Linked DNA regions of Homo sapiens: region 2 is linked to region 1. The links are contacts of gene promoters, found by promoter capture Hi-C in blood cells and fetal thymus (Javierre and others, 2016). All regions are on one chromosome and are shown on one strand. The core of a region is centred on a gene start or on the middle of the fragment in contact, and the rest is flanking DNA. Distances in the headings are between cores, read along the strand shown. Region 1 holds the start of COMMD9 (COMM domain containing 9). Region 2 overlaps PDHX (pyruvate dehydrogenase complex component X).

Region 1 (3,772 bases), core at 827-3,326:
AAGTTCAAGAATTTGTACACGGAAAAGTTAATAATGTGTAGAATTAGGATTCCAACTCAGGTTGAATTCTAAAACCCCTATGCTTTGCTGCCACCATGCATTAGTTACTATTGCTGTATAACAAATTACTTCAAAGCTTCATAGCTTAAAACAACAAACATTGATAATCTTAATAGTGTTTGAAGGCCAGAAATCCAGGCGTGGCTTCGCTGGGTGGTGCTGGCTCAGAATCTCTCATGAGGTTGCAGTTAAGCTGTTGGCCAAGACTCCTGCCTTCTTAAGGCTCTACTGGGCCTAGACAATCTGCTTCTCAGGTCAGTAATGAAGTTGTTGGCCAGATGCTTCAGTTCCTTGTCACCTAGGCCTCTCTGTAGGACTGTTTACAACATGGCAGTTTGCTTTCCCCAGAGCAAAGGATTCAAGTGAAAGAGAGCAGGGCACATGAGAGAGCACCCAAGCCAGGAGACAGGAACTTCAGTCTTTTTGTTAGTTTTTTGGTGCAGTCTTGTATAACCTAATCTCAGAAGTGATATGCCATTCACACCCACCATTTGCTATTGGTCATGCATACCAATCCTGGTACATGGTGGGAGGTGTCTACACTAGGTTGTGAACACCAGGAGGCTGGGATCATTGAGGGCCATCTTGAAGGCTGGTGACCACACTCCTCATTACTCTAAAGTAAGACAAGAAGGCACAATCCTGCAAATACCAAGGCAATATCCTCAAATAAGTCACAAAATTTCATCTTAGTCTAATCACTTTTTTGGGTGGTTGTTTATTTAACAAATATTCAATTAACCCAAGACAATGGGCCCAGCCCTATAGATACAGGCAGGAGTTAAACCTAGAACCTACATTGAGTTATAACAGAAACCAGGAATCAGGCCATGAGGGTTCATGGAAAAGAGAGGCCAAGAAAGAGAGCTAGAATCAGGACCCTGTGACAAAATGGTTCTAAAATCTTCTAATCCAGGAATGGGTTCCTCCTTAGACAATTTGATTTTTGGTTTCCTGGGCCTTGACAACATCCCCACAGAAAATGGAGTCGGGGAAGGGGAAGGGGGAGGAGAGGAGACAAAGGAACAAATGTCCTTAGCAGCTTACCAATTTCTGGAATTTCACAAATGGGCATTCTTTCTTAAGCTCGAATATATCAGAACCCATTTTTTGAGCTGGAATTTGCTTAAAAAAAAGTGGAGGGTAGGAAAAGAAAAGAGCCACCCAAATACTAAAGGTAGATAAAGGAAATGTCTGTTTTGATGTACGGTCTCTGAGAACAGGGCAAATCAGAGTCCAGTACTGCCAGTGCAAAATCACTCTTTACAATTATATTCATTATAATTACCTTTTTGAATAAATGAACTAAATCATTTCCATTAACCTCCTCCCCCATCTCACCCCCGTATAACAAGAACCTAGCTAGGTAGTAGCTTTCATTCCATTCCTCTCTTGTCCCCTCTCCCAAACACTTCCTCACCTGCTCTTGTAATCAGATCTTCTCTATGACTATGGGAAAGTTACTAAAAACCCTAAATGATTATTTCCCAATCTGGATAATACTAATAATACCAGCTCCAACCTACTACATAGGCTGAAAAACTATATACGCAGAAGTAATTTTACATTCAAGACAGGATGTGTGCATGTGTGTGTGTCAATTCCAAGAAGCCCGATATGCACAGCCTCATTTTCATTCCAAACACTGGTACGCCGATCACTCCTGAACAACTACGTTTCCAAGGCGCCTGCCAAGCTTGCAGGTGCATTCCCCAAGTGCGCCAGCCCACCCACATGGGTCAAGGGAAAACCTGTTTCCCTGACTTGGTAAGTAGACAAGTCAAGCCAATTTCCTCCCCGAGTAAACCATCCTCCGCCCTGGTCCCCCTAGTCCTTTGGTTCTAGAGTCTCGGGGTTTAGTCATCCAGCCGCCGCGTCCGTCTTGATCCGCGCTCACTGCCGCAGCACCACAACCGAAACGCCTTCCCCCACTCTGAAGGACTACAGCCCCCGGCAGGCCCCGCGACAACAGCGACAGCCACGTGACCTCGCTTCCCTGGGTGCCACGGTCATGTGACTTCGGCAAGATGGCTGCCCTGACAGCGGAGCATTTTGCAGCACTCCAGAGCCTGCTCAAGGTAAGTCGAAGGGGTGGGGACAGCGTGAGGTGGCCCTTTGTCTCCGAGACTTTAGACGGAGCAGGAATTGGGAACAAATTGACCCTGGTTTGGAGCCACAACTCTGCTGCTTGTTCTCTGTGTGATCCCAGGCAAATCGTTGCGTCTTTCTGAGCTTTTAAAAAGTAAGAACAAAATATCGTTTTGACAGGAACGTAAGATAAAAAAAAATAAAATAATGGGCATGAAGGCGCAGTACAACCTCCTGCTATTAGTCTTTGGGATTGGTTTTCGGTATTGGTGCATTGAAGTGGTAATTGCTAGACCCACGTTGTCAGTTCCCCATTTCATCCCGTAGCCCCTCCTGCATTGCACAATTAAGAAATTATCTCCTACTGCGTCTGCCCAGCCCTCCGAATGACCTGTGCGTTCAATGTTCCCTTGAGGTCCAGATTTTCCCTACTCTCTTTGACCTGCGAAAGGGGCAGGACATACTCCTGATAATCATTTGAAAAGTTGTGAGGTTGAAAGGGACCTACTTCATAGGGCTTTGTAAAGCTCAAATGAAGTATTATTATTATTTGAGACGGAGTCTAGCTCTGTTGTCCAGGCTGGAGAGCAGTGGCGCAATCTCGGCTCACTGCAACCTCCGCCCCCCGAGTTCAAGCAATTCTATGCCTCAGCCTTCCGAGTAGCTGGGATTACAGGCGCCCGCCACCAAGCCTGGCAAATTTATGTATTTTTAGTAGAGACGGGGTTTCAACATCTTGGCCAGGCTGGTCTTGAACTCCTGACCGCGTGATCCACTCGCCTCCGCCTTCCAAAGTGTTGGGATTACAGGCGTGAGCCACCGCGCCTGGCCGGAATTATTTAACTTATGATTTGCCCTGTAGGAGAAAGGGCAGCTTTATTTTCCTTCGTAGAACTTGTCGCTAGCTATTTGCCCGTTGTCCGTCTGTCTCATAAGAATGTAAGATCCATCAGGGACCTTTCCTTTCTTCCTCTCTCTTTTTTTTTTTTTTTAAACACCAGGTGAAGAGGGTTGAGTTACTCTCCTCAATTTATGGCACATCATCATCATCGGTCCATGTAATAGTCTCTGTTTTGTTTTACTTATTTATTTTTTAATTGCCTTCTCAGTGTTCATTAGCATTCTCCACTCCTAAGGGGATCTACTCTTTTGTTCACAAGTGTTAATGCCCAATAAGTAGAACAATAATACCTGGCACACAGCACGTGCTCAGTAAATAGCTGTTAAATGAATTAATAAATGAAGTAACAGAGCTGGGACTGGCAATCTAGGGCTCTCAGCTCCCAACCCAGTGCCTTTTCACCTTCATTTTGGCTGCTCTGTACCTACCCCCGCCCCTATACCTGTTGGTCTTATGCACTCTTTTCTTTTAAAAACTTTAAAAGATTAGTGTGTAGTATACATACAGAAAAGTGCATAAACCATACATTTACAGTTAAATGATTTATTACACACCAATGTAACCACCACCAAAGTCAAAAAATGAAATGTTACCAGTACCCCAGAAGTCCCCCTTTCGCCCTTTCTTTGCTTCCTCACTTTCTTCCCCAATGGTAACCTCTATGTTTGCTTCTGATACAATTCATTTAATATTGCCCATGTTTGAACTTAACATAAATGGAAT
Region 2 (3,772 bases), core at 416-2,915, 1.4 Mb after region 1:
CCAGCTATTTGGGGGGCTGAGGCATGAGAATCACTCGAATCTGGGAGGAGATGGTTGCAGTGAGCCAAGATCACTGCACTCCAGCATGGGCAACAGACCAAGACTCTGCCTGAGAAAAACAAAACAAAAATACCACTTTTACTACTGACAATGAATATTTCAAATGCATAAGAGAACAGGTTATCTCTAAGTGCATTATATATGAAAAACAGGAGGAAAAATAGCCACAATGAGTTTCCTAACTCCTAATTACGAAACACCGTTATTTTGGAAGACACTGAAGAACAAAGCCATCCAACTCCAGTCCACCATGACTCTCAATAACTGTAGCTGAAACAGTTTCACTGAATTCCCAAGCTACCTCTAGTTGAAATGCTAAATTATAACTAGAAGATAGCTTTCAAAATCTTTGCATTTTTTACTTAGTAAAATAAGTCCTTGTGATTAAAATATTAAATAGGTAAAAAATAATGCAAACTACTAAATACAACCATAATGTTTTGTCTATAAAATGCTGGAGAACTAAATTCTTGAGTGAACTAAAATTAGGGAAGTGCACTTGGAAAACACACATACACACATACTCTCTTACACACAGGAAAACTTATAACATTAGTGATGCATCTCCAAATCCAAACCATAACAATCCTACACTTAATTGCAAGAATTCTTAAAACGTGCATAAAGCTTAACACACTGAATGCATTTGGAGATAACAGAATGAGCTTTCTAATCCTCTACACTATGTGGTGTGTCTACTGCCTTTTTCTTTTTTACATGGCTTGATGAAAAAATCAAAAACAGTTGCTTAAAGAATGTACTGTCAGCCTGAGCCTCAGCATTTATTTTGTTAAGCTCAGAATAACAAACTCACTTGTTCTGGGGAAAAAAAAAAAAAAGGAGGGGGGTGGGCAAAAAAAAACTCTTATCTTTTAAATAGCACCACGGTAAGAGGCCAGCCTCTTTTCGAAAACAAAGGCTTAAAAAAAAAAAAGTCCCAATGTGTTCTTTCTATCAAAAAGTTCAAGCCAGGCATTATGAACAGAATATTTCATAAATATATACATATTACATTTATATATCAAAGAGTTCCATTTCAAAGAAGCAACTAAATGGACCTCAATGCTTCTATAGCCAGATTCCAATTTACGACAAATACTAACTTAATTCTCTTAAAGTCTCTCTCCAATATTTGTATGCTTTGGTTCCAGTTGTCACGACACAATTCACATTTATTTTATGATTCTATCTCCTGCTATAATCTCTCACCTAAGAGACCTTCACATTTCCATTACTCTTGACATTAAGGACTATATTATGAAACCTCTGCATTTATTATTATCTTTCAAGTTACCACATCAAGAACCTCAAAAATTTTCATATTTTAAAAATAAAAAGAACATAATCGTTCCTTAGTCACCCTTCATGAAATGAATTGAAATTGCTTATCTGAATTATGATAATACAAAAATTCTGTAGTAGATCATTATCTTTACTCTGAAATGAAGGTGACAAAAACCAAAGAAAGATATTTTGGACATCTCCATTATTCAATACTATCTCTTGATAGATTACACTCGCTTATTACGGAGAGTTAAATGTGCAATATATTTTGTAGTTATTCTAACTAATCTATCCTCAGGCTTTCATGCTAGAAAAATCATTTCATAAGCATTAATGTGTTAATAAAAGTACATATTTCATTCTAGCATACCCTCTTTTGATTAGAACACTATATGGTATCTTTTCCAGACGTATTTTTCTGATGGGAAAGTAATTACACAATCGTAAGATAAACTTGAAGTGACAGGCCTGCACATAATTAATATCTGCCCTTTATGGCTGCTGTCAACTCTACTAAGATAGTGTAGACTTTTCTAGACTCCTTGGAATGGAATTTTATCCTTTACCTAATATTAATTAATTTGCATTTGAACTTATATGCAGACTCCCTCCTTATTCCAGTAAGCTGTACATTCTACCATTCTCTTGTCAAATTAAGAAGGCCTTAAGATATGCACCAATTACGTTTCCTAGTATTAGTTTCCCACAACTACAGGTAAGTAGTTTGCTGCACTCATTACACAAGTTTTTCAATTAGTATTCACAAAGTTCTCAAAATTTAGTTAAAATTTAACGTTTTGTAGTCACTTCAGTGTTCTGCTCCTTCTTATAAAGCTAGCAAATTATATCTAATTGGCTTGTGAAGTCTACCCTTCCACAGCAGTTACAAAACATTTTTAAAAATTTTTAAATGACTATTGTAATGTATGTGGTCCAGTACTTTATATTTAAACTTGCTGATTTTAAAAGTAAAGTCTCATGACTCATAACTATTTTACTCTTTTTTTACATCAACAGAATGACACAATACATTAAAATTTTTTGCTTAGCTTATTGCTGTTTTCCCTGCCATTTCTGCTACATGAGCAATTTACCAATCACTGAATTTTACAGTAATCCCTCTAAGCAATTCCTGTATTTCCTCAAATGGGCTCTTCCAATTTTTCTACAGCATAATTCTGACTTCAATTTCAAATATGGTACACTAATCTAATTCTAGTTTCTTCTTCCCTAAAGTATTTCTTTTATCCTAAGAACAAAATGCTCATACTTCAGCAAACTCAATTATATCAAAGCTTTAAATTGATGATTGATTCATGAATGCTAAAAGGTCTCTAGATTAAAAAAAAAATTTAATACAAGCAAACTCTTAAAATACAAATGCAGAACAAACTGCTTTATGGTTAATATGAAGCAGATTTAAGCTCCATTACTCTGACTAAAGTAATTAAGGGAATTCAGCAGTTTACATATGGTACAGCTTAAACATCATGCTCTAGTTCATTTATAGGCTCTAGTTCATTTATAATCCAAGCATGCAAAAATCATGAAATGAAGATAGACCAAATGAAAAAGTAAATTATCCAGTACTTTCTTAGTGTGGCTCCCTGTCTCTAACATTAATTTGCTTCTTCTCTAATAGGGAGAGAGACTGTTCATTTAATCACTTCTCATTCCAATGTCAGAACACACTAAATAAAACGGAGCCTTCAAAATTGCTGTTCAAATGAAACAATTCTGCCATCTGCAGGCTGGATGAAATAAGGCAGAATAAAGTAAAAGTAATTTAAAAATCAGCACTAGGCACAGAGTAATATTAACACTTGGAATAAAGGCAGTTATAGTATTTTTTGTTTTAAAGGATCGTTTGTCATATAAGTCTTCTTTGTTCAAATAGTTATTTTGGTGTGGTACTGGAGTAAAAATAGACTGAAAATGTCAATGGACCACAACAGAAAATGAATGCACAACAGTTTGTGTGAAAACAGCATTTACAGGTCTTGGCATGCTAACAAACATAAAAAAGATAACCCATAAGCAATATATAGGTTGAGTATGCCTTATCAGAAATGTTTGGGACTATAAGAGTTCTTAATTTCAGATTTTTTCAGATTTTGGAATATTTGCATTCATTATTCTTACTGGTTGAGCATCCCTAATCTCAAAGTCCAAAATCCCAAATGCTACAATGAACATTCCTTTGAGCATCACCTCTGAGCATCATGTCAGTGCTCAAAAAGCTTTGGATGTCAGATTTTCAGATTAGAGATGCTCAAACCTGTATATGGCATCATCCAATTACTACCTGCCCAGCTTGTACACATACAAAGATTGAAATGAAATACTCCAAAATGACAATAGTAGTCATTCTAGCTAGTGATATTACTATAAGGGCTTTTTATTTCTTTTATTTCTGATAACCTACATT

The links. Contacts are between HindIII fragments. The CHiCAGO score rates a contact against its expected background, and 5 or more counts as called.
Region 2: a contact is called between a fragment that was not itself captured here and the fragment with the promoter of COMMD9 in region 1, in 1 of 17 cell types (naive B cells). The highest score is 6.7, in naive B cells.

What each region holds. Positions count from the first base shown.
Region 1 is chr11:36,287,728-36,291,499 of GRCh38, reverse strand. It overlaps COMMD9 (COMM domain containing 9), which reads left to right and starts at 2,076. Exons shown (of 6, transcript NM_014186.4): 1 at 2,076-2,138. The coding sequence starts at 2,088. RefSeq lists enhancers at 1,926-2,175, 2,012-2,714. The HindIII fragment of the contact is 8,947 bases long and covers 1,759-3,772 here.
Region 2 is chr11:34,925,594-34,929,365 of GRCh38, reverse strand. The region is part of intron 1 of PDHX (pyruvate dehydrogenase complex component X); the gene reads right to left. Among named protein-coding and RNA genes, the nearest start is that of PDHX, 11 kb to the right of the region's middle. The HindIII fragment of the contact is 1,952 bases long and covers 690-2,641 here.